Regions from separate parts of the Homo sapiens genome. Here all the other regions are linked to region 6. Evidence: promoter capture Hi-C in 16 types of primary human blood cells and fetal thymus (Javierre and others, 2016). All regions are on one chromosome and are shown on one strand. The core of a region is centred on a gene start or on the middle of the fragment in contact, and the rest is flanking DNA. Distances in the headings are between cores, read along the strand shown.

Region 1 (4,241 bases), core at 477-2,976, 850 kb after region 6:
CTTGGCTTTTTAGGGTAAAATGATTTAAGGTAAGGCCTCTACGTGGTGTCATCAGCCACCTGGTGTCACTGTCAGATCACCTGGTGGATGCTGCTAACCCTGGAAAATTTGGGAAGGACTCTGTTCTCTGGGTTTTGTTTGTTTTGATGCTATTGTTTCCGGTTTTTGCTCAAGTAATATGATTTCTCTCCTTGGCCTTCTTATTGTTTGTTCTCACTCTCCCCACTCCCACCCTCGCCCCCCTCCACACACACACATACATTCTCCCTCTTCTTTCCTTCCAATGTCCCTGATTCCTCTGTCTAGCTTGATTGCCTGCCACCCATTTTCTCTCCACTCCTTGCAAAACTTTTCTTCTTTGACTGACTGCTCACTTTGCCATTCCCCTCAACTATACTTGTTTCTAAATCACTTTGGATCTCACTTTCTGTTTACCAAGTCTGAAAATAATAAATAATAAATACAGGCCACTTTAGATCTAGGCTTTCTTAAACATTTTTTGGTTTGCCTCAATAATCCTAGGGGTTAGAGGGCCCCATAACCTGTAATGTAATCCAGACACTCTCTAGGGTAAAAAAAGAGTTGGATTTTATCCAAAAATCGTGGTTGTCTACAGGCATGAATTGAAAGAAGATCAATTGAGAGGAAACAGCATGACGTACGTTCTCTAGGGAATCCATGGATCCGAGAAGCCTTCAGAAGATAAATATTGGCCCCAGGGAGAAGGAGCCAGTTTCTCTCCTGGAGGCCACCTAAATGTGGAGGGAAACACCCCTATATCTGGCCTCCTCCATAGGCCAGGTGAGGGCTTCCCAATGTCTTGGAAAGCACCAAGTTGGTGAGTGGCATAACCTGATCATGTCATTCCCACTGATCAACAAAGACACACTAGTGGAATTTGTCTTCCTGTTTCTTGTAGCCCTCCCATCATCAATTGGGAGTGAGTGAAAGAGTCACCTCAGCCTCCCATCCAGTCGTCCTTAAGGGAACAGCTTTAAATGCAATGCAAACAGACCAGGCGCGGTGGCTCATGCCTGTAATCCCAGCACTTTGGGAGGCTGAGGCGAGCAGATCACCTGAGGTCAGGAGTTCAAGACCAACCCGGCCAACATGGCAAAATCCCATCTCTACTAAAAATACAAAATTAGCCAGACATGGTGGTGTATGCCTATAATCGCAGCTACTCGGGAGGCTGAGGCAGGAGAATCGCTTGAACCCAAGAGGCGGAGGTTGCTGTGAGCTGAGATCACTCCATTGCACTCCAGCCTGGGCAACAAGAGCAAAACTCAAGAAAAGAAAAAAGAAAAGAAAAGAAAAGAGAAAATGCAAACCACACAGGGATTAAAGGATAACCACTCCAAGATTCAAACGGCTTTAAGTCTCAGGAGAAAGTATGACATTGAAAAAATATAGAAAAATAGGTCATGAAAAGAATGTAATAGTAGAGGCCAGTATCCACAGAGTAGGAAGAAACACTGATAAATTAGAAAGGCTTCCCGGTGTTATTACTGGTTTTTTATATTGACCATGTTTTCTACCGACACCAACATGTGGACAGAATGTGATACTCGCCAACTAGTCAATGCTCTTATGGCTGACAGCACACAAAGCTCAGAAGAGTCTTTCTTTTCCATCCCTGCCAGTGCCTGGCTTTTCAGTACAACTCAGGCCAAAGGAGACGTCCCTGCCTGCTAGACAGGGTCTGGTTTGCCATGAGCCAGAGACTTCCCGGTAGCACTCGGGGGCTGGGAATGCTGTGAAAATGCAGGGTCAGGCAGGAAAAAAGTAGGTGCTCCCTGTTAAAGCAAACTAAATGTGGCCTGAGAAGGACTCCGTACTTCTATATTTGAGCCCTTGTGGATGAACTGCAACCTAACTTAATAGGTAGATGAGATTGAAAACCTAATTTAGGAGTCTGCACCAGTAACAATCGCTAAGTCTTAGCCAATCCCAGCAGACATACTTCAACCAGTCACACACCGCTGAGTGTTCAAACTGTGTTCAAATAAGGCAAACCCCAACCTGTAACCAGTCCAGCTGTCTCTTTAGCTCACCTCCGATTTCTGTATGTCACTTCCCGTTTTTTGTCTATAAATTTGTTCTGACCACGAGGCATCCCTGGAGTCTCTCTGAATCTCCTGTGATTCTGGGGGCTGCCTGATTCACAAATCGTTCGTTGCTCAATTAAACTTCGTAATTCGGCTGAAGTTTTTCTTTTAACATCCTTGAAGGTGCCAGTGAACTTTAGCAATCCGTCAAAGTACTTTTCATCTCCAAGTCCAACCTGTTCACCGCACATCGACTTCCACATATATTAGCTTGGGAAGCAAGCCTGCCAAGATGACCTGAAAACACTGGAAATTGGTGCCATCCCTGCAATTAATGAGGGGTGACAGTGGCTGCAGTTGTGGGTAAATCCTCTCTGGCGGACAATTTCCTATTTGGATACACTCAAGTTCACCCTGTTTGTTTCTGAATCATAATAAACTCCCTCTGTGAATTTCATATACAAACCCCTGTTCTTGGGGCTATGCCAGACCCAGAGCCCACTCTGAATTTCATGGAGGAGAAAGATGTACCTAAGGTTTGCTCCACATCACGGCGTGTCTTCTTTCGCATGCTCTCGGTGGTCGTGTTAAAGCAACTAGAGGAAAGGGTAGGACATGGAGTACTTAAGATTTCCCTTGAAGCTGTTGGCAACACTGGTTGGAGAACTTCTGCTGTTCTCCAACCAGTGCTTATGCTGCAGGCAATTTTGTTGTTCAGAAGAGCTCACCTTTTTAAAATAAACAAGCCTCATCAATTGTGGGAGCCGAGGTTTTCTTTGCACTTCACGATTTAGCTACCTTATGTGTTTTTATGGCAACCTCCCTCCCACCCCCACCCCACCATTTATCACATCATCTTATCACAGTCTCTTTGGGAGACGCAAATAGCACACTAATGTTTCCCTTTGTTAGGGTGAGTTGTCAATCTCCTCAGAAAGGGAACAACTACAGACAGCTCTTTCTTTTGATAATCTTCCTGACACTTGCCAGAGACTGGCTTATCCATCACACAGAACCTGGCTCCGTGGAGAGGCACATGCCGACAGTCAATCAGTATGGATGTCACTTTGTGTCCATCAAGAAAATATGTAATGTGAACTGTCGTGTATTTTGTTCCAGTAAATAGCCTTCCTTTCTCCCTAAATCTTCTCTGTTTTTTTGTGGGCTGACAGTGCAAACACAACACACGCAGCTCTGCTCTTTGACTAAGCAAGTCTGAAAGCTGTCCTCTCTGCGCTGTTTTCAGTTTACTGACCTACTCTTGTTTTTGCTGACAAAGGAAGGGGAGAAAGAACGTAGAGCCTCAAATGCCCTAAGTTTGGATCAAGAGCACCTTGTTAGAATTAGGAATGCTGGATTTGGTGTGAACTTGGTGCTGAGTTACATCATCAGCCATAAGCTTCCAGCCACTGGAAATCTTCCTATAGACAACAGTCCTCACTTCCCAGATGCAGAGCAAGCCAGAGAACCTGTAGGAGAAAACCAGGAATATAGAGCCAGAAACATACAATGAAGTCATTTCTCCAAACAAGTTTGGGTAAATCAGCCAAGTCCAGGCCCCCAAATTGTTCTTGGAACCTTTTCCTTTCCATCTGAAAGAAGAAGGAGATCCTGTAGGGAAAGAGGTTGGAAGAGGCTGGGGTGCAAAAAGGAAAGAGGTTTTATATGGACGTTTGTGTATGTTAGGCAGGCCATGCACTGGCTGTGGATTGCCGCCTTCCTTCTTTTCTGGGAATAGAAATGGGTAAAAGCCATCATCAACCAACAATTATGATTGTCTCCAAGATCTCTCTAAGTAAGATCTCTGGCTAGAATTACAACTGGATCTCAGACAAAATTAGATTCAATATCTAGGTTTTTAATGGAAAAATCTGTAGAAAGCCAGATATCCGATAGAAAATGGTTAATAAATTATAGAGAGCCAAACTATGGAATCCTTGGCTGCTACTCAAGAATGAGGTGGATCTTTGTGTTCTGCCACAGAGAAGTGTCTAACAGGGAGTGAAAATGGCCTTTTGCATTACACTATGGACAATGCAACCCACCTTTTATTTCAAAAGCATGATACAAATGCCAATTATTAATCACTATCCCTGGGGTAATGAGACTGTGAGAGAGAAAATTTTATTTTCACTTTTTAGATTTGAATTTTTAAAAACAAGTGTTTATTTGCTTGGGTTTTTCTTTTAAGCC
Region 2 (4,576 bases), core at 1,647-4,146, 900 kb after region 6:
GTTTTCATGCCTGGTAACACAGCATCCATTCTGCAGTCCGTGGACCAGGGAGTAATTTTGACTTTAAAGTCTTATTATTTAAGAAATACATTTCATGGCTGGGCACGGTGGCTCATGCCTGTAATCCCAACACTTTGGTAGGCTGAGATGGGCAGATCATGAGGTCAGGAGATGGAGCAAGTAAATAATGCCTGAGGACATGGGCATCCTGGCTAATATGGTGAAACCTTGTCTCCACTAAAAATACAAAAAATTAGCAGGGTGTGGTGGTGGGCGCCTGTAGTCCCAGCTACTCGGGAGGCTGAGGCAGGAGAATGGCGTGAACCCAGAAGGCAGAGCTCGCAGCAAGCCAAGATTGCACCACTGCACTGCAGCCTGGGCAACAGAGTGAGACTCCGTCTCAAAAAAAAAAAAAAAAAAAGAAATACATTTCATAAGTCTGTAGCTGCCATAGATAGTGATTCCTCTGATGGATCTGAACAGAGTCCATTGAAAACCTTCTGAAACGGATTCATCATTCTACATACTATTGAGAAATTTGTGATTCCAGGAGTTTACATTCTAGTAGGAGAGCAGAAGTAAACAACAACAAAAAAATAGTTTCAGGTGTGCTAACTTCCGTGAAGAAAAATAAAAGCAAGGTGAAAGCTAAAGACAGGACAAGGGGAGAGAAAATGAAAGAGGTACAAATTTAAATAAGAGAAACAGAAAAGGCTTCTCTGAGAAGGTGACACCTGAGGAGGAACATGAACAAAGTCAGGAAGGAAGCTACAGGAAGAAGAGGAAAGTGCTGGTTTCAGGCACAGTACACAGCTGGCCCAAAGGCTGTAAGGCAGTGCACAGCAAGGCACACTACAGAAAGCCAGGCAAAGAGGGAGAGAGCCCAGATCATGTGGGACCTTCTTGGCCATGGGAAGAACTTTGGATTTATTCCAGATATGATGGGAAGTCATTGAAGGATTCTGAGAAAAAGAAAGACCCAATCCGACCCCATGAACTGTGTGGGTCGTAAACTGAAGGAGAGCCAAGAGTGAAAGCTGGGAGACCTATGGGCTCCTGGAGAAGCAAATGATGGCTTGGACTGGGATAGTTGTGGGGTCAGATGAAGTCAGATTTAAGATATATGATTATTATAAAAGTTAGAGCTAACTGGACTTGAGGGATGGATGGTTCATTCATATTAGCATTATGTATCATAGTAAAATACTGCAGTCAACATGCCCCTCAGAAGGGAAATGGATACATGAACAGTGGTGTATTTGTACAATGGAATCTGAACAGTAGTTCAAATTAATGGCATAGCTTACTGGCATCATTGTAGAGAAATCTTAACAGTGTTCAATGAAAAAGCAAATAGTAAAAGTGTCTGTAAAGTGTACCCTTTATGCAAATTTTAGAAACACAAAACATACCTAAGTTGGGAGAGTATAAAAACCTAGACAAGCAGAATAGCACAGAAATTAACTTAAGGTGGAAAAGATGGAGGAAAGAGGCAAGGGTGGGTCCTTTGATTCTATTATTAATGCTTTCTTCTTTTCTTTTTCTTTTTTTTTTTTTAAAAAAAGGCTGGGTCTTGCTATGTTGCCCAGGCTGGAGTGCAGTGGTGTGATCATAGCACATTACAGCCTCCAACTTCTGGCCTCAAGTGATCCTCCCACTTCAGCCTCCCACATAGCTGGGACTATGGGTGTACATAACTGCACCCAGCTATCATTAATGCTGTTAAATTAAGTTTAGCCTAAAGCCGCCTCCTTACATATTTTAAGTTCAGCCTAAAGCTTCTCCATACACAATGAACTGTAACCCAACTGGGTATATAAACAGACTAACTTACTCTTGTACCAACCACCATGTTTTGGCCAGTCAAGGGTGACCAACTGTTCAAGCTGTGTTCAAATAAGGCAAACCCTGAGCTGTAACCAATCCAGCTGTTGGTGTAATTCACTTCTGTTTTCTGTACCTCACTTTTTCTGTCCATAAATCTTTTTCCACCATGCAGCTGCTCTGGAGCCTCTCTGAACCTACTCTGGTTCAGGGGATCCCCGATTTGCAAACATTCTTTGCTCCATTAAACTGCTAAATTTAATTTGTCTAAGGTCAGTGCTTTAACAATGCTTTCTTGAAAAATAAAAACCATGGGAAGCAAATATGGCAAATTGTTAAATGTGACAAATGCCAGTGATTAGTACATGGGTGTCTTTTACATGTTTACTTTCTGTGCTTTTTTTTTTCTTTTTTTTTTTTAATCTGAAACATTTAATAATTTTAAAATATTTAAGTTTTGGAGAGTTTGTTCTGACAATCAATATCAATATATTTATTGTGTTAAATATACAGTTCCTTTACAGGGTCCTATAAATAGGAATGCAAGTTTGTCATGCAATTTTAGATGCCTCATAAAGGTTTTAAGTCACTGTATTAATCACACACTGGTAAATATTTTCATTTTAAATGAAAGACACAAAATGAATAAGCATGGAAAATCAGTGTCCAGGGAAAGATGATGGCACAGGCCACAGCAAAAGGTAAAAGGAAATGACATTTTATAAGTACATACTTACACAGACACTACTTGATATGAGGGCTGTTAATACAACAGGTACTCAGTAAATACTTATTATATTTATAAGTATTATTTGTATAATTTAATTTAATTATTTTTTAAGTTCCAGGGTAAATGTGCAGGATGTGATGTGCAGGTTTGTTACACAGGAAAATCTGTGCCATGGGTGGTTTGCTGCACCTAGCAACCCATCACCTAAGTATTAAGTCCTGCATGCATTAGCTATTTTTCCAACTAAAGTGGTTGTAGGTGGAATTTTATTTTATTTTTACATTTTTTCTTTTTTGAGACAGGGTCTCACTCTCACTCAGGCTGGAGTGCAGTGCTCAAGCCATGGCTCACTGCAGCCTCAACTTCCTGCGCTCCAGCAATCCACCTACATCAGCCTCCCAAGTAGCTGGGGCCACAGATGTAGGCCACCACATCTGGCTAATTTTTCTATTTTTTGTAGAGATGGGGGTTTCGTCATGTTGCTCAGACTGGTCTCGAACTCCTGGGCTCAAGCAATCCGCCTGCCCTGGCCCCTCAAAGTGCTGGGATTACAAGCATGAGCCACCATCCCCAGCCCTGGAATTTTAAATCTTCAAAATATTCTAAAATATCAATCTCTTGTTAAAGAGCTTTGAATTCCCTGGGCTACTACAAACCCTAAGAATTCTGTGTTTCTCTATACCTTTTATTCACCTTGCACAAAGAATTCCATTTCCTATTATTAAGTTTGAAACTTGACTGTGAGGTTCAGAGCACTTACATAATGAGGTAAGTTAAACTTCAACTCAGAATGACTGGTTTTCGGACAAAGAATGCAACCGCTAATAGCATGTATCATTTTTAGATGAGATTTAGAAACAATGCTAATGTTTCATGTGCTGCTCTCGGTCCCATGCACCCATCTCTCAGGCGGTATAACATGAACCCAAGCGCCCCTGTAAACCAGAGACCTTCAATAGACCAGATACCCCTGGAGACAAAGGGCTGGAGCAATTTCACTGTGTTTGTGGATATAGACAGTTTGCAGTCTGTCAGGTCACAAATCTCTGTTTTAAATAACCCCTAATTACAGATTTACGTCTCCAGTGCCTGCTTTCAGGATGCATAAAGGCAATATAGCTAAAAGGCCTAACGTTAGGCTTCAATTGTCAAAAGCTGCTCTGTTGGAGGGCCCAGCCCATTATCACCCTGGCTGTTTGGTTCACAAATGCTGGCTCTCCAAGCCATATTGGTATGTTTGTTTTGCATTGTATGTCAACACTGTTTTAAGTAGATCAGTTTGCTGACATCTGACACCTGATTAGAAAAAGGAATATGGAAAAATGAGTGCAAATCTGACCTTTTTTTGGCAAGAAGAAATATTTGTTTTTCCGTGGATGAACATTGTCTATTGTGAAATATATTAACTGCTAGTGTTAAAACATCATTAAACACTTTGCACAAGGGAAAGTCAAGCTTTGATTACTGAATCAGTCAGTTCCAACACTATGGAAGCTGAATTACAGCCAAAACCTAACTCAGCTTACTTCTTACCATCCACAGTTTCCCTGTCACTTGTTCACCTTTCCATAATTTCTTTTTTCCATTTGGCAAAGTTTTTGTCTGTTTTTATGTAAGAATTTTTCATTGTTTTTAATTTGATCATTTTTTTCTCTGGAAACACCCATAAAAGGTGTTAAATGTCTTTGTTCATCACTTAGGCAACTTATTCTAAATTGTCCTAGTTGTGAATTATATAAATCATTTATGTCTTCTTCAGATCTGTTCCTTTCAAGCAACTCTTTGGAAAGAGAATTGCTGCAGAGAGAAGAACTTTATTAACTAAATGGAGACTTAGGGCTCATTTGTAGGTGGTTTAATTTCTGAAGTAAACCAATGCAAGATATTGGTAGGGGGTCCCAGGGAAGAGGCTAATCTGCACATTGTCCTATCAACCTAGAATTCAAAATTAGTCCCCCAGCAGGCCTCAAAAGTTAAACACAGGGCCAGGCCCAGTGGCTCACGCCTGTAATCCCAACACTT
Region 3 (4,278 bases), core at 1,074-3,573, 840 kb after region 6:
TCTAATGAAAGAGGGCTTTATCTGAGACTTAAGATTTTTTTCTTGGTTCCTGGTCTGATGGCTTAGTTGTGACTAATCAAATTTACCAGTCCTCTAAGCAAATATGGACAATGACATGTAAGTTTCTTTATCCCATGGTAGGGGGGGAAGCCCATGACTAGAAGTTACTGAAAGCACAATCTTCAGGGGGTATTAGGGAAGGGACTACATGCAGAAAGGCAGTTGCTTAGGTTTACTGCATTTCTCTTTTTTTTTTTTTTTTTTTTTTTTGAGATGGAGTCTCTTTCTGTCACCCAGACTGGAGTGCAGTGGTGTGATCTGAGCTCACTGCAACCTCTACCTCCTGTGTTCAAGCAATTCTTCTGCCTCAGCCTCCCCAGTAGCTGGGATTACAGGTGTGTGCCACCACACCTGGCTAATTTTTGTATTTTTAGTAGAGACAGGGTTTCACCATATTGGCCAGGCTGGTCTCAAACTCCTAACCTGGTGCTCCACCCACCTCGGCCTCCCGAAGTGCTGGGATTACAGGTGTGACCCATCTCGCCCAGCCTACTCCATTTCTTTAAGGCAAATAAGAGTATACGCCTTAGGGTTGAGGGGATACCAAGGTGCAAAGGCAAAAATTAAAGACAACTTAGTAATGGCGTGATCCCCAGGGGGCGGAGCCTGCAGTGAGCCGAGATTGCGCCACTGCACTCCAGCCTGGGCGACAGCGAGACTCCGTCTCAAAAAAAAAAAAAAAAAAAAAAAAAAAAAAAAGACAACTTAGTTAAGAATTGGAAAAAGTGATTTGAGAATAATATACTAAGTGAATCAAAAGATAAAAAGTGAAATATGAGCAATTTGGGGCTTGCACAGGGCTGTTTTCTAATAAAGACAAGACATCTGAACTCGTAGCCAAAGAAAGAATGCCTTATAGTTAACTGCATGCACTCAAAATGTGGTCCAAGTTGCAAGAGAAGACATGAGGAGTACTTTTGCAAATAATTTTTATTCTAATATTTAATTTTGCTGGAAAGTCTTGTAATCTAACACAATAGTTAAGTAAAAGCTGGTCGAAATAATGAAATGCATTTCTTCCGAGCCCATGGGTTCTGAGGAGCCCTCATGGCGGAGACAGGGGTGAGAAATCCCAGACAAAAGCTCCAGGTCAACGCGCCCCAGCCGCGTCAGAGCCAGCAGCTCCTGCCCTCAGCATAAAATTGGTCCCCAGAGCAGGCTGTAGGAGAGTTCCCTGAGGTAGAAGGAGGAAAAGAAAAGGAGACTGGGGGAATGAGCTCTGTGTATGAGCATGTTCAGGGGATGGGAGCAAGAGAGGGGTTTACATCTCCTGGGAAGGCCCAGGGTACTAGGATACTGCAGCAAAACACCAACAATGGGCAAGTCATGTGTGCTATTAACTACGTTAACAACATAATTAACTTTTTAGTTGCATTTTCGTTAACTTATTCTATTTTTAGTCAATGCTTTTTATTGATCAGTTGGCAACCAAGTTTTTATAAGTGATTGTTTTTAAAAGAATTGATCATAAAGGAAAGAAAAAGAATGAGAAAAAAAAAGGAAGGAAGGACAGCTATGTGCTGCAACGCTTCGGTACCCTTATGTTAAAAAAAAAAAAAAAAAAGGTCTTTTTATTTCCTAAGTCCAGGCTCAGAGGATGATCTCTTACTAAAATTCTAGCCTGTGGTCCTGGCCAAGAGAGTAAACTGCTAGTCACCAGGACATAATTCTGCACCTGTCTTTAGTATCTGTTGAAGTTCCTAGAGCAGCATCCAGGGATAAAAACAAATGACCAAGTTTTTGTATGGCACCGAAGCAAGGACACCAAATAGTCACTCTGATACCCTCCGTTCTCCAATCCCTGCCCCTCACGAGGCCCCTCCTTGCAAAGAACAGCTCAACGAAAGGAAATAGAATGCTTTTTAAAAATACAGGCTACCCACGTTAGACTTTGCACAGTTTTACTAGCTCTGCCACTGACCTACAGATCTAACAACAGCAATAACATCTGTCACCTATTGAGCACTTCCAGGTAGTGTTCTAAGCATTTACATACAGTTACACATTTAATCCTCACAGCAACTCTATTAGGAAGCTGCTAAATATTAGTCCCCACTTTGCAGATGAAATTGAGGAAAATGAGGTTAAGTGAGGTGCCCAGGCCACGTGACCAGGATCAGCCCACAGGCCTCTGCTTCCAGCATCTGCCTTCTCAATCTGTACACTGTGTGATGTTGAAAGCTTTTGCTGGAATTAAGCCTCCTTATTTTAGTTTATCTTCTTCCTGTTAAACCACATACAATACTTCTGCTTTTATTTATTCAATAAAATCTGGAATCAGAATCAGGTAAAAAACATATAGAGAGAAACAGTAGTTCAAAGAAATTCAAGTCTGAGAAAGCTTTGGAAACATTTTTTCATGTTAAAGGATTTTCGGCAAAAATGTAAGTGTTTTTAATCTCTTCTCCCATATGTTTAAAACAGAAGGCTTTTATTAGAGCAAGTCATTGCACTAAGATGCAAACAGTTTAAAAAAAAAAAAAGTGAAAATGACCCAGAGCCATTGCCTTGGAAAGAATAATAAGTAGGGGTCGGGCATGGTGGCTCATGCCTGTAACCCCAGCACTTTGGGAGGTGGAGGCAGACCGATCACAAGGTCAAGGGATCAAGACCATCCTGTCCAACACGGTGAAACCCAGTCTCTATTAAAAATACAAAAATTAGCTGGGTATGGTGGCGGGCATCTGTAGTGCCAGCTACTTGGGAGGCTGAGGCAGAAGAATCGTTTGAACTCAGGAGGCGGAGGTTGCAGTGAGCCAAGATTGCACCACTGCACACTCCAGCCTGGTGACAGAGCGAGACTCCGTCTCAAAAAAAAAAAAAAAAAAAAAAAAAAAAAAAAAAAAAAAGGATAATAAGTAGGACCACTAGGACCACTGATGTAAGCAGACTTAAGAATCTCAAACAAGTTTTTGGGTTTAGTTTGTATATTTTCTACATATACCTCTAATCAACAGGGATAGCCACTGTTAGCATTTTGAAGCGTTTCTTCCAAAAAGTGTTACTATTTCTAACCACAAGCACAACAATATTGCTTACATAATTTAACTCTTAGGCTATGAGTGTTTGTTTTTTGGGGGTTTGGTTTTGAGGATTTTTGTGCCTTATAAATAGCCCTCCATAGACTTGGGAGAAAGTGATGGCATTAATATGTAAAAAGAATAATATCTCAGGTTTAGATTTTACCATTTCTCATCCACAGAATGCACTTCTGCAGCACCAGAAGAACTTGTCAGGCAAATAGCTAGATTCGAGTTAGAAACAAACCAAAAATCCAATCAAATTAGTTTTGAGATCATGATTGAGGTCACGATAATGAACAAAAGAAATTAACCGTTGGCCAGGCATGGTGGCTCACGCCTGTAATCCCAGCACTTTAGCAGGCAGAGGCGGGCGGACAGCTTGAGCCCAGGAGTTCAAGACCAGTCTGGGCAACATAGTGAAACCCTGTCTTTACTAAAAATACAAAAAATTAGCCAGGAGTGGTGGTGTACTACCCAATTACTCAGGAGGCTGAGGTGAGAGGATCACTTAAGGAGTGAGACTCTCTAAAAAAAAAAAAAAGAAGAAGAAAAAAAGAAAAGAAAGAAAGAAATTAACTATTGGAAATGTCTAAGTTTTAAGATTTTAACCCAATCTTTGACCCTGTAGATATACAGCTTAATTTGATTATTTCCTTTCCTGAGTTTATTTAATGGGCTTGGTATGATAGAACCACTACCAGAATACTACCAGAATACAGCTCAATGAACTTGTTTAAAACATCTTAAGATGTTGAACTGCAGTGAGAAAAAAAGGGGACAGTACAATCCACTGTGGAATGGCAAATGCATGAAGACTTCATAGAAAGGATTGATAATGAGTCGTGTTCAACGACATCCACATTTTATTGTATGCCCCACAGTATAGATGGCAGGGTATTCATTAGTTATGACTTATGTGGTTCAAGTAAATGTAGTGACTTACAGTGGGTTTGTAACTTTGCAGGTGGTATGATATAATCATGGTTCTTAACCTGGCCGTCTGTTAGAATCCCTGGGTGAGTTTCTAAAAAAATACTAATGCCCTGTCCCCAGCCCAGAACAATGACTTCAGAGTCTCTGGCTGTGGAGCTGAGGCAATGATGTATTTTTAACTCCAGATGATACTATTGTGTAGTTTGAGATGCACCGGTACAAACAAACAGCTCAAGTTTCTGAGTCAGCCGGTGCTGGGTTC
Region 4 (4,496 bases), core at 1,517-4,016, 980 kb after region 6:
CTGGTACACTAAAGCCTTGACAGTTTTGACCCTCCATTTGGCACTTTTTCCACTTTAGCAATCTCATAAGCCGGTTCCAATAACAGCAAATAGTAAGAAGCTGAGTCCAGGTCTTTCGCTCTAATTTCCCCAGGGCACCCCAGCTTCACTGTAGTTTCTCAGATCCAATGATGGCAAGAGAGTTGATACACCTCCTAAGTGCAGTCTCTATAATTTAAAATTTCAGGGAGGTTACATCCTGAACAAGGTGGCACAGCTACATCATGACATCTTAAAATTGAGTAGTTTCTGAGAACCAGAGTTGTAGAAGCATACCACATCTGTACCAACTTGTTGAAGTAAAAGGATAAATTGTAGAGAAGGTACTTAAAAAGCTTATCAAATATAAAATATTTTGGTACAACTGAATTGGAAAAGTTGCAGTTAAGTCAGAATGCCTTGAGGTGTATCCAGGATGTTTTGACCCTGCCATTTTGAACTATTGGAGATTCTGACCCTACTGTTTTGATCCTGGAGACATTTTGACTTTACTTATACATGAAACATTTTGATCGGAATTATATAAATATTGAGAAATGTTTTTGTCAAGAAAGCATTTCATGGAATGAATGTCATGTCAATTTAATTTCCTGATTGGTTTCCTATCCAACATAATGCTGTTTCCCATTTGTGTATTATTTTTTTCAGGCAAGTTCCCACTCTGTCACCCAGGCTGGAGTGCAGTGGCATGATCTTGGCTCACTGCAGCCTTAGCCTCCTGGGCTTAAGAGCTCCTCCCATCTCAGCCTCCCCAGTAGCTGGGACTACAGACATGTGCCAGCACACCTCGCTAATTTTTGTATATTTTGTAGACACAGGGTCTTATTATGTTGCCCATGTTTCAAACTCCTGGGCTTATGGGATCCTCCTGCCTCAGCCTCCCAACGTGCTGGGATAACAGGTGTGAGCCACTGCACCTGGCCAGATTTTTTATTGTACTGATTTTTTTCCCATGGAATCGATTATTTTCAATTTTAATTTTACAATGAAGATTTGCATATCAATTTTTTGTTGTTATTCATACTGCTCGTTACCAATTATAGCTTCTGCCACTGTGAGTTTTCGTTTATAGTTACTGTTTCTTACCTAATTTTCCCAGGTCAGATTTTACTGTTCTGAATTTTACTGTAAATAGTTTTAAATATTATACTTTTTATTTTTATGAGCAATATTCATTATAAATTGGCTGAAAACAATTGCTAATTGTATTTCTTTCAGAAGTAGTCCTTGATTAAAAAAAAAATCTCCAGTTCTCCTAGACAGATTTGGGATTATCCAGTTATTCAGCCTAGGTCCATGGTATTGCTAATGTGGTGACTGTGCAAAGAGCTAAACATCCTGCTTTGTCTGGGCCTTGCCTGGACTAAAGACTGCCTCGATGGTAGCAACCAGTGTAGACTTGGCACTTCCAAACTAGCTCTGAAGCCTATTTAGGGAAAATCTCCACATTTAGAGGTTCCCTGTCCAAGATATACTCTTTCGATTTGGTTCTACTGTAATTTTTTTCTCCTAATCCTAGAATAATATCCCTTTCCTTTTTATTTTCTTCTTCTTTTTTTTGGTCTTAACCACCTCACTCCTTGCAACTAATAGTTTCTCATTGTTGGCTACTAATTTATTTTTATGGGGAAAAAAAAATCCTGTTAATCCCTGCTTTGCTCTTGACTTACATTGATCTTTCAACCTGGCAAGTGACTTTTGGTGAATAAGCATCATTAGGAAAAGAAAAAAATAGAACATCCAACTTATTATTTCTTTACAGTCAAGAAGCAGACTGCAGATGTTCTTACTCTGATTTTGTCTGGGAGCATTGATGCTGACAAGTATTTTTCCATGAGATATTACAAAGTGGTCAGTTTTGTGGGCTGGTGGAATAACCTCTTTGCAGTCACTGACTGCACTAAATAGGGCTGAGATCATTGAGTTATTTTATTACCAGCTTGGATTCCCTACCCCATAACCGAAGAAAGCAAGATGGAAGAAAGTGGCATGAAACTAGCAACGATCTGCATAGTGCCTTTTAAACTAGACTCTTCAGCAATTCCCCAGAATGCAAATTTTGTTTCACAATGAAGGCCATACTTTGTGTTCCTTTCAGAGTGACTCGGTCAAGACTGTTCATCTATTTATCCAAAAATTCCGATCACAGAAAATATTTTATTGCTTATTTAGAAACAGCATGATATTAAGATAGCATATTTTGCATTAGTCTACTTTAAATGAAGGACAAAAAGCAAAAATAATTGAAAACAGGCTGTGCTTGATAGCTTCATGAGAAAGAATCATGGTGGAGCTGAAAACCTTAGAAGTTGGTTACACATGATGGAAAAGAGGCCCTCACTAACTGACTACACCATTCCCATTGCTTTTGCTTGTAAATACATCTGGCACCCAGTAAAACTTTATAAAATCAAGTTGTTGAATCAATGTTTAGGTGATGACAACTTCCCTTGTAAATAAAGGTCATTTCCTATAATTTTGACTTTAGTATTGATTGATTGATTGATTGATTGAGACAGGGTCTTGGTCTGTTGCCCAGACTGCAGTGCAGTCACGTCTCACTACAGCCTTGACCTGCCAGGCTCAAGTGATCTTCCTGCCTCAGTCTCCTGAGTGGCTGGGACTACAAGCAAATGCCACCATGCTCAACTAATTTTTGTATTTTTTTGTAGAGATGGTGTCTCCCTATCTGACCCAGATAGGCTGGTGACCCAGGCTGGCCTTGAACTCCTGGGCTCAAGCAATCCTCCTGCCTCAGTCTCCCAAAGTGTTGGGATTACAGGCGTGAGCCACCATGCCCCACCCACGTTGACTTTAATGCTACCGAAATACAGTTTTCCCCACCAGGCCTCAAGTAATGTATCACACACAGCAGGGGAGCTACCCTGAGAACAAATGCATGTACTCTGATGACCAGCTTCTTTTAAAAAAGAATTCAAACCCACAGAATTAGAAGAGTGTCCTCTGGATTTCTACAGAGCACTGAGAATCCTATGTAGGGCTTAGTGAATGCTAAACAGGGTTAGTGAATGCTGAACAGAATCTCAGAATATTGAAAGTAACATTTATTGATTTGACATACAATAAGTTTGTTGCTACCTGACTTTTTGGTTTGTAAAACATGAAGCATTTCACAAGTTGGATCCCACCATTTCTGCCCTAAGCTGCAGACAGTCTCCTTGCACCCCCACTGGTTTACCTCTTTGCCCACAGCTGCTCAGAGCTGTCTTGCTGCAAGGCTGATATTTACTGTCTTACTCCAACAAGGATGTTGGTAATTTTAAATTTCTCTGGCTTTTAGCTTGTGATGTTATTGTCTTGCTCTGTGTCTGTTTTCTTTTAGATTTTAGATTTCTGACATCCCAAGAGGCCTTTATGGAGTGTTGTTTTATCCTCTTTGCTCCTTTGGTGAAATTTAGAAAATAGTATTTGAAAGCAGTCGCTGGGAACTTAGGAAGAGAAAGAACCACAAATCTAGGCAATTTAAATCTTTGGTTTCTGATAAATCGTAATGAATGAGATATGCATCATATTCAACATTAAATTCAGTAACTTTTTTTATTACTGAAAAATGACAAGCCAGATCAGTTCAACTCTGACCATCATACAGACACAAATATCTTACTAAAATAAATACTAAATACTAACCAGCAGGGCTGAGCCAAGGATGAGATGAGTGAGGTACCTGCCTTGGGCACAAAATTTAAGGGGACATCCAAAAAAAAGAGGGGGAAAGAAAGAAAAGAAAAAAGAAGCAACAAAAAACCTCAAACCAAAAAACTCGATAATCAAGCTAAATGATATTTTAATGCAATATTTAAAAAAATAAATGCAAAAATTATGATGAACAAAATATCAAAATGTTAAAGACAAGATCAGTAACAGTGCCTTGCCAGGCCATATTGCAGCCTCAGCCAAAAGGAAAAATCAGTAACATTCATCTTATCTTTTCCTAAAAATTTGATTTTTTTGTTGACCTCATTTTCCTTCCCCTTGTCCTGGCCCTGCTAACCAGAATATCAGTGGTTAGGGTAAAAAGATGGCATAACCTTTCCTCTAAAAATGTTCACTCAAGGCAGAAAATATGTGTAGTGATTTTCAAGCCTAGTTATGATCACTGGGTGACCAATATCCATAATTTTGGCCCTGGTTTGGCTATAGTCTCAATTAGAAGGTATTTCCCAATCCAAAAACTGGAAGTGTTGTCTTTTCGTTAATTCAATCTGAAGGGATCATATTATCAAAAACCATTACATTTCTTTTTTTTTTTTTTTTTAACCTGCTTAGAAAAGCTATGTAGTTCAATTCATCAAAAGTTTCTCCATCCACGGTGGTCCCCTCTGGCTCTCTCTTTATTGGTTTTGGCGGGAGATGGCCTGTGGGGCTTTTTCCGGTATTCCACTTTTGTCCAGCCCCCTTCGCTGACTTTGCTGTCCTCTTCACTGGCTCTTGAGTCA
Region 5 (4,479 bases), core at 224-2,723, 880 kb after region 6:
CCTTTAAGAAAAGGTCTTATTAAAAAATAACCTACCCAAATCCACTTTTATCTTTGGTGTACCACCACACTCCAGCACCTAGCTATGTATACACACATAATAGATATGCAGTAAATATATGTTGAATGAATTGATTTCTAAATTAGGAGAAAAGATTTACCATGACTACAGACTTACTAAGCAGATAATTCCACTGTGAAAGAGGGCTAAATCCCAGGGATACTGTAAAACTTTTCCTTCCTTGTGTGAAAAAAACATATAGGTACAGATTTCACATGCTAGGCCCTTTAGAACCTGGGCAACGCTTAGGGACAGAAGCTCTCTTCCTCTCACAGATGTTTACATTCTCAGGTGTAATTTAGAGGCTCTCACCAGTGAACGGTTATATATCTTCTCTCGAGAATTGCTGCAGACGTTCTCCAACTCCTCCTCTGTAATTTCTTCCACTGGGCGAATTATATGCGGAAGGGTCACGGATGATCTGGAGCGACGGCTTCTGGGCAGGTCATCTTCCTGCATTACAAGGAATACAAAACACAGAACTTCAAAACTGAAAAACTGAAAGAGATTCAAAACTGAAAAAACAGATTCAAATATGAAACACAGAGATTCAAAACTGGCTCTCCCCAGCTTTGAATCTCAGATACTTGACTTGTAATTTCTTCACACAAACTTCAACCTGGAAATCTCTCCTAGAGCTTATGGTAGGGGAACAGGCCATACGCTTACTGTAGCCTAACTGGACATTTTGGAAACGATGCCTACAATTAAGAAGAGATGAAGAAAACCCAATTCTCGCCTGCTAATAAAATTACCAAGTAAGCTTATGTGACGTTTACAGTTCTGAATGGTTAGAGGAAAACATTTACTATGGATCGCCTGGTGTTAAGGATGTGCGTGTACCTGTGCTGTGTATGATGCCAGGCCTACCGAAGATGAGAATCAGAAGAGCAAGTACCAATGCGGAGAACTCACATTCATGTAGCCATCCACGGTCTTCCTCTTTCTCACCAACATGTACTTATCCTCTTCCTCCTCCTCCTCCATGGGTAGAGCGTCAAGGGACCCGAGGATCCGGGACCTTGACCTGGTAAGAGGACGAGCTCTCCGTTCAGGGTTTCTCCTGGAAGCAACACCCGGGAATGTACGCCTTCGCGGTCTCCTTGATTGCTAAACAAAGCACGTATAAGGGAATCCATTTATTCCATAATAAAGAGAAGTAGTACTTTGGGGAATTCATAGCTTCTCCTTAAGGATGTTTTAAGTAAAGAGAGCTCTATTTTTTCTTTTTCTTTGTCCTTTGCATAATGCATGGCAAAATGAGCCTAAAACCTATATGGCCATCTTAATTTTGCTTTTGTAATACCAAGCCCAGTTTCTTTCAACTTGAGAGATGAGCTATTTATTCTTTTACTTAATGAAGATGTAAGAAATGATCTTCTGTTCTAAAAAAAAAAATTTTCTCTGATGTCTCTTGACCCTGTAGAAACACATTCAGTTTCTACACTGCAAAATAGAGGGATATCTGTATGGCTTCCCTCTTTCCATCTTTCCTTTCCTCAGGGAAAGCCAGGAAAAAGAAATCTTTTCTATCACAGCAGACACACCAAATCTCCCTAAGTTGTACCACCTTAATTCCTCAGAATGCAATTGTGTATGATACCAAGCTACAACTTGATAAGAAATTGTGATTTTCTTCTTTTATTTTCATTCTCCAATTTTAAAAACATCTATTGCACATCTACCATGTAGGAGGAATGTGCTCACACTGGAGAACAGAAAAAAGTTTTCAATCTTCATTACCTGCCCATGAGGGGCTTAGTCTAGCTGGGAAGGAAAGAAAGAACCAATCAAAAGGAGTTTAGTGCCACAGGAGCACAGCAAGGAGAGACCAAACTGCCCAGGATTCAAGGAGGATCATCCAGAGATCTGTCAGGGGGTTTCCTCTAGGTCCCCTTCGTTTGTCTAGAAGGCCACACAAATAAAGAAATTAGATTTTTAAATACAACACAGATCGACCTTAGGTGTGCCCAAAACACTACTGTATATAAACAAGAACTGGTACTTACTGAGTCGGAGCCTGGGAGGGGATGTCTTCCACGGAACGAGCCAGGGAAGCTTTCTAATTCAGACATGAGTTTTGCAAGCTAAAAAGGGAGGAAATTAAACTGATATCATTGGCTTAGAATAACTGTCGAAAATGAGCAACTAACTTCTGGAAAATACTCAAGTACATCTCATGGTTTTATATTTGATAGTAAGCTGACACATTCAGAGTTTCTGATTTCCCCTATACACTTAACCAGGCCTTTAACAGATTTAAAAAAAGTAGTTCAGGGAAAGAAACACATTTTGAGGCACACATTGAAGACTTCACAGGTAAACAAAAATAACTTTTTATTCATGTAACAGAAAAAAATAACTTTTGCGTGATGGAACAGATTTAAGTAATGAGTCGCTTAGAGAGGAAAAATTAATTCTAACACAAAGTCAGATACCTACCATTGCTTTGTTTTGCTTTATATTTAAAGCCCTTTTCTCCAAAAAATTCATTCCACTTTCATCTTCTGAATCGGAGTTGGAATCAGTCACAGAATTCTCTGAGGGCTGGCGGGACTCTGCTTTTTTGTTGGTTGCTCCCCTGGTACTCCGCGCTGGAAACTTCATCGCCACCCTGAGAGGTCCAGAGTGCCTGCACTGGCTGCGGGTCCTACAGCCTTCCCGAACTGACTGCAGCCTCTAATCACAACAATTGAGTCATTAGGACTTGATCAGCAGACAAGCTGCATCAGTATAACTACAAAGTCCCTTTTCAATGAGACACTTGTATGAAATGAATTTTAACTGAACATTGATACCTCTGGGTAACAAAATCAGGAACCACAAAGAGTACATCAACAGAGTGCAGTTTAATTCCATGTAGCCCATCTGGACCACACTGTTATAAGCTATTTTCATAGTCCCTAGGCCTGTGGTTCTGAGCCTTTTTTTAAAATGTTAAAATTCCTACCACCTGCTTTTCATTTCTTTAGAAACAGATCTTTATGTATTTTAAAAGAATTCTGACAAGAACAAATGTGTTCTCCTGGCTGGGTGCAGTGGCTCACATCTGTAATCCCAGCACTTTGGGAGGCTGAGGCGGGTGAATCACTTGAGCCTAGGAGTTCGAGACCAGCCTGGGCAACATGGTGAAACCCCGTCTCTGCAAAAAAAAATACAAAAATTAGCTGGGCATGGTGGCGCATGCCTGTGGTCCCAGCTACTTGGAAGGCTGAGGTGGGTGGATGGCTTGAGCCCAGGGGGCAGAGGCTCAGTGAGCCGTGTTCGTGCCACTGTATGCCAGGGCTGGGTTACAGAGCCAGACCCTGTCTTGAAAAAAAAAAAAAGGGAAAAAAATGTGTTCCCCTATAAATATGGCTTCAATGTTTATGGCAATATTAAATTATATTAACAGATCTCAATTCTCTACTTTAAAAAATATATAATATAATATACATAAGATTTATCATTTTAACCATTTCTAAGTATACAAGTCAATGGCATTAAATACATGCACATTGTTGTGCAGCCATCACCACCATCCATCTCCAGAATGTTTTCATCTTCTCCAACTAAAACTCCATCCATACCCATTAAACAGTAATTCCTCATTCCCTCTTTCCCTCCGCCCCTGGCAACCATCATCCTATTTTCTGTCTATACATTTGACTTCTCTAGGTACTTCTCTAATCTACTTTTAGAAGTTCAAAATGAAAATATTTCCAGATTCCAAAAGTAATATAGGTTTTCATCATTAAAAATTTATCCAAATTAGCCATAGGGTAATGTAAATCAAAATCACAATGCAAGGCTGGGTGCGGTAGCTCATGCCTATAATCCCAGCACTTTGGAAGGCCGGGGCAGGCGGATCACCTGACGTCAGGAGTTTGACACCAGTCTGGCCAACATGGTGAAATCCCGTTTCTACTAAAAATACAAAAATTAGCCAGGCACAGTGGCACACGCCTGTAATCCCAGCTACTTGGGAGGCTGAGGCAAGAGAATCGCTTGAACCCAGGAAGCGGAGGTTGCAGTGAGCAGAGATCACTGAGACCACACCACTGCACTCCAGCCTGGGCTACAGAGCAAGACTCCGTCTCCGAAAAATAAAAATAAAAAAAAACACAAAACATAGTGAGACACCACTTCATAGTAGAGCTAAAAAGCAAAAGAAGGCTGGGTATGGTGGCTCACATCTGTAATCCCAGCTCTTTGGGAGGCTGAGATGGGCAGATCACCTGAGGTCAGGAGTTCGAGACCAGTCTGGCCAAGATGGCAAAACCCCGTCTCTACTAAAAATATAAAAAATTAGCCAGGTGTGGTGGCACATGCCTGTAGTCCCAGCTACTCAGATGCTGAGACACAAGAATCGCTTGAACCCAGGAGGCGGAGGTTGTGGTGAGCCAAAATTATGCCACTGTACGCCAGCCTGGGTGACAG
Region 6 (4,373 bases), core at 1,127-3,626:
CTCCCAAAGTGCTGGGATTACAAGCGTGAGCCACCGCACCCGGCAAGCTTTTTAAGTAATGGTTCCTCTCTATTTCCACAAGCAGCAGTGTGAATCCACTATAGAGCTTCATTACTAAAATATCAGTACATGATTCAGGAATCACTTTGAAGGGCTGTTCCTGAGAGTTATTTTCACAGTGGCCACAAAATTTGGGCTAGTTAGCCCTCTTTTTCATAGTTAAAGTGCACCAAGATAGCTGTTTTATACATATATAGTTTTGGTGACAAGGGTACTAGACCAAGAATATAAATAGGGCACATTAATATATAATATTAAGAAAAAGTAATACAAAACCAAATCAAGTTGCCTGTGTCCTTGAGAATTTCCAAAATTGTAGAGAAAGCTCTTTAACTCACCTCACTAGAGCACTGTTACAGGGCTAAGGAAAAGCCTTAATGCAATTTTATTATGAATACTGGCTCAGAGCTTATAGGGAGTCTCTATTTGAATGAATTCTCGTCTGGGTGCGGTGGCTCACGCCTGTAATCACAGCACTTTGGGAGGCCGAGGTGGGTGGATCACAAGGTCGGGAATTCGAGACCAGCCTGACCAACATGGTGAAACCCCGTCTCTACTAAAAATACAAAAATTAGCTGGGTGTGGTGGTGTGCACCTGTAATTCCAGCTACTTAGGAGGCTAAGGCAGGAGAATTGCTTGAACTCGGGAGGCGGAGGTTGCCGTGAGCCCAGATCACGCCACTGCACTCCAGCCTGGGCGACAGAGTGAGACTCCATCTCAAAAAATAAAAATGAATTCTCGCTGAAAGGAAACAGATTTTTCAGATAGTTTTAGTTTTACTTTTTATTTGTATTTATTTTGTTAGAGATAAGGTCTTGCTCTACACCCAGGCTAGAGTGCTGCGGCAGTGATCATAGCTCACTGCAACCTTGAGCTCTCAGGCTCAAGCCATCCTCTCACCTCAGCCTCCTGAGTAGCTGGGACTACAGGTATGTGCCACTACACCCAGCTAATTTTTGTTTTTTGGTAGAGATGGGGTCTCACCACGTTGTCCAGGCTGTTCTCCAACTCCTAGGCTCAACTGATCCCCCTATCTTGGCCTCCCAAAGTGCTGGGATTACGGCCAGATTTTCAGTTAGATTGTGGTTTGAAATATGCTGCTGCCATTTACTAGTTGTGTGACTTCATCCAAATTAATCAACCTTTCTGATATTGTTTCCTCACTTGTAAAATGGGGATGGCGACCTATTTACATCCTTTAATATTAATAGCAACTAATCCCTTTAAAAGGAGCTTCTAGTGTCACAATTTTTGGACAGGTATCATATTCATTACAACAAATACCTGAATGACATCTGAAGGCCAGGACCTAAATGAAAGAATTCCTTCTCCAGTGGCGCTCATGGTATTGATATGATGTGGGTGAGATGGGATGAAATCCTAATATTAACAACAGCGACTACTCACAAGCCTTTTCTGTATGTGCTGAGTACTGTTGTTATGAGCTCAACACGCATTGTCTCATTTTATTCTCACACGAATAACCTCATAAGGTGGTTTTAATAGCCTCATTTTATCCAGAACGAAATTGAAGTCCAGAGAAGTTAATTTGTCTAGGGTCATACAGTCAATGAGTGGCGAAATCCAGATTGGAAATTCCCAAATTTCAAAGGCCCCTGCTCTCAACTACCAAGAGGAAAAGGGGGGAAATTGGCTCAATTAAACGCATTCTGTGATCCAGTACCTGTGTGCGACGCTTTAACTATAAGGCGAGGAAGAAATCCCTAGACCAAAGTTTCCCTTAGCCCCTTTTCCTTCAAGAACTTTTAGTTAACAGCTTCTCTCCGCACAGACTGAGCGAATAAAGTTATAGAAAAGGGAGATGGGCTAGCGGCCACGCGGTCCTCGGGGCTGGTGTGGCTGTTTGCCTGACTTCAGACGCCCCGGATCTCCCGGAGGGAAGTCAGGGCCCAAGGCACTCCGCAGTCCAGCTGGGAAAGCTTGGGGCTGTAGGCCCGCGAGTGAACGTGAGCAGGTAACCCAGGCCGCGCAGCCAGACGGAAGCGGAGACCTAGAACCGAGAAGCCCACGTGCCGAAGCGGAAGACTAGAGCTCCCGGGAACGGCCTAGCCAGCGCCTTCCCCTCTCCAGCTCCCTGCCGCCGCGCGGCTCCTCCCACCCTGGGCTCCTCCCGCCCTACTCCCGCCTCCCCGGCCGGTTAGGCCAATGGGCGGGACGCGCGGGCAAGGCGGGGAGGGGCGGGGCCCATGGTCTGCGCGCAGGTGCCGCTCGGCGCCCGGCCCGCCCGTTCCGCCGCTGTCGCCGCCGTCGTGCGTGCCGCTCGGCGGAGGGGACGGGCCTGCGTTCTCTCCTCCTTCCTCCCCGCCTCCAGCTGCCGGCAGGACCTTTCTCTCGCTGCCGCTGGGACCCCGTGTCATCGCCCAGGCCGAGCACGGTGAGGCCCTCAGGGAGCCCGGGGGCGCGATCTCCGCCAGGTCTTCGGCGCCTGGGCTCATTGCCCTGAGGCTGGCGCGGGGCCCGGGCCCAGTGGCCAAGATGGGGCCAGGGCAGCGGGTGGCTTGGGGATGTGTGGATGAATGAGGCGCTGTCGGACTAGGCCGCGCGTCGGGAGATCGGCCTACGCCTCACGCGGGAAAGCCCTGGGGAAAGCCTTCTCCCGACGCCAGGACGCCCGGTGGCCCAGTCCGGAGAGGAGGATGGGGGGTGGGGCCCACTTTGGGTGGGCTGCCGGCCACCTCTCTGTAGGCCAGAGGACCCGACAGGCGCTGTTCCTGTATCTGTTCTTTGGAGGCCTGGGAGTTGGCCAGGAACAGGTGTCAGGACGCTGAGAAGGGAAATTCCTGGCCCTCGGGGTCAGGGATCAGAGGCTGGAATACTACTGCAAGGGCAGGGCCCCAGCGTGGTCCTAGGAGGTACAACTCTCAGCCAGAAGACTGGGACAGTTTTAGTTCCCAGCTTCTGAGACGTGAGCTTAGCGGTCTTTGTGATTTCACTTTGCAGTCCAAGGGTGGGAGTAATTCTGCACGCATGATTTGGAGACAGAACTAGTAAGGGACAGAGAAAGTTTCGACTTGTAAATAAAAAGGTTCCGTCGATTAATTTACCATTAGAAATAGTAACCATAATGTAGATTTTGGAGGTTGCTTATGAGGACTGATGAGCCGTACCTTCAGTGCCAAAGGTGGGAGGGACTTGGTGGAAGGACCCCAGTACCTGGTGGGTGTTCATCTATGTGAAAAATGGGGGTTGTGGGCGAATGGGAAAGATAAGATTCCAGATTATAGAGGAATGGTTTGGTGTGAAGGGTGACTTGGCTGCTGGTGGTTCCACAATGGAATTTTCTTTGACTGTCTTCTGTGTACTTGCTTCCAAATGCTTTCTTTCATATAACCATATATCAGGTTAAGATATAAAGTGTTTTGTGAGCAGTCTGGATGGAAGATTGGTAGCTAAACTCTAAGTTTATCTTTGATTCCTGGTGCCACAAATATTTTATTTATTTATTTATTTATTTAAGACAGAGCCTAGCTTTGTCGCTCAGGCAGAGCCCAGTGGCGTGATCTTGGCGCACCGCAACCTTCGCCTCCCGAGTTCAAGCAGTTCTCGAGCCTCAGCCTCCCGAGTAGCTGGAATTACAGGCTGCGCGCCTGATGGCCGGCTAATTTTTTTGTATTTGTTTTTCTTTTTAGTAGAGACGGGGTTTCTCCGTGTTGGCCAGGCTGGTCTCGACTCCTGGTCTCAAGCAGTCTGCCCACCTCGGCCTCCCCCTCCCAAAGTGCTGGGATTACAGGCCTGAGCCACCGTGCCCGGCCCAACAAATATTGATTTTAGATCAGTCTTTCTGGGACTTCTCAGCAATGACTCTTTTGACAACGGATATGTTTACAGAACTTTTTAAACATTTTTGCTGAAAAAAAAGTGGATTTAGCTCTGTGTTAGTTTTGGATCGCTATATACAGTATGTTTTGTTCTTAATCTTAATTCAATAATATATTGTATGTGATGAAATGTGTTTTGGGTCCATGTGGATAGTAAAAAGTTTTGTTCATATGTTTGCTTTGGTATTTCAGATGCCCCCTAAAAAGGGAGGTGATGGAATTAAACCACCCCCAATCATTGGAAGATTTGGAACCTCACTGAAAATTGGTATTGTTGGATTGCCAAATGTTGGGTAGGTGAACGTTGGGGCTTTTGTGATTTTCATTTTGTAAATATTTTGGGTCCTATTGTAGAAATGGGAACCGTGAGGTAATTAAACTTTAAGTTGAAGAAAAGAGGCCAGGAAGCTGGACTATTAATATTGCAAAATTAGGCTTTAGTTTAGATGTATTTTATTGATTTCAGTGCTGGT

What was found. Contacts are between HindIII fragments. The CHiCAGO score rates a contact against its expected background, and 5 or more counts as called.
Region 1: a contact is called between a fragment that was not itself captured here and the fragment with the promoter of OLA1 in region 6, in 3 of 17 cell types (total CD4 T cells, total B cells and non-activated CD4 T cells). The highest score is 6.1, in total CD4 T cells.
Region 2: a fragment that was not itself captured here is called in contact with the fragment with the promoter of OLA1 in region 6 in 1 of 17 cell types (fetal thymus); the score reaches 6.0 in fetal thymus.
Region 3: a fragment that was not itself captured here is called in contact with the fragment with the promoter of OLA1 in region 6 in 1 of 17 cell types (total B cells); the score reaches 5.2 in total B cells.
Region 4: a contact is called between a fragment that was not itself captured here and the fragment with the promoter of OLA1 in region 6, in 2 of 17 cell types (total B cells and monocytes). The highest score is 5.4, in total B cells.
Region 5: a contact is called between a fragment that was not itself captured here and the fragment with the promoter of OLA1 in region 6, in 1 of 17 cell types (fetal thymus). The highest score is 5.1, in fetal thymus.

What each region holds. Positions count from the first base shown.
Region 1 is chr2:173,393,578-173,397,818 of GRCh38, reverse strand. No RefSeq gene overlaps it. Among named protein-coding and RNA genes, the nearest start is that of CDCA7, 41 kb to the right of the region's middle. The HindIII fragment of the contact is 3,447 bases long and covers 3-3,449 here.
Region 2 is chr2:173,346,802-173,351,377 of GRCh38, reverse strand. No RefSeq gene overlaps it. Among named protein-coding and RNA genes, the nearest start is that of CDCA7, 5.8 kb to the left of the region's middle. The HindIII fragment of the contact is 2,231 bases long and covers 1,781-4,011 here.
Region 3 is chr2:173,410,724-173,415,001 of GRCh38, reverse strand. No RefSeq gene overlaps it. Among named protein-coding and RNA genes, the nearest start is that of CDCA7, 58 kb to the right of the region's middle. The HindIII fragment of the contact is 160 bases long and covers 2,244-2,403 here.
Region 4 is chr2:173,266,603-173,271,098 of GRCh38, reverse strand. It overlaps MAP3K20 (mitogen-activated protein kinase kinase kinase 20), which reads right to left. Exons shown (of 20, transcript NM_016653.3): 20 at 3,084-4,496. The coding sequence ends at 4,349. All of the region lies in intron 2 of MAP3K20-AS1 (MAP3K20 antisense RNA 1), which reads left to right. Among named protein-coding and RNA genes, the nearest start is that of MAP3K20-AS1, 13 kb to the left of the region's middle. The HindIII fragment of the contact is 4,780 bases long and covers 377-4,496 here.
Region 5 is chr2:173,361,486-173,365,964 of GRCh38, reverse strand. CDCA7 (cell division cycle associated 7) reads right to left here. Exons shown (of 10, transcript NM_031942.5): 4 at 2,503-2,739; 5 at 2,070-2,147; 6 at 976-1,170; 7 at 373-513. Among named protein-coding and RNA genes, the nearest start is that of CDCA7, 8.9 kb to the right of the region's middle. The HindIII fragment of the contact is 1,295 bases long and covers 826-2,120 here.
Region 6 is chr2:174,246,535-174,250,907 of GRCh38, reverse strand. It overlaps OLA1 (Obg like ATPase 1), which reads left to right and starts at 2,376. Exons shown (of 11, transcript NM_013341.5): 1 at 2,376-2,456; 2 at 4,093-4,193. The coding sequence starts at 4,093. RefSeq lists a silencer at 2,071-2,590. The HindIII fragment of the contact is 2,463 bases long and covers 2,004-4,373 here.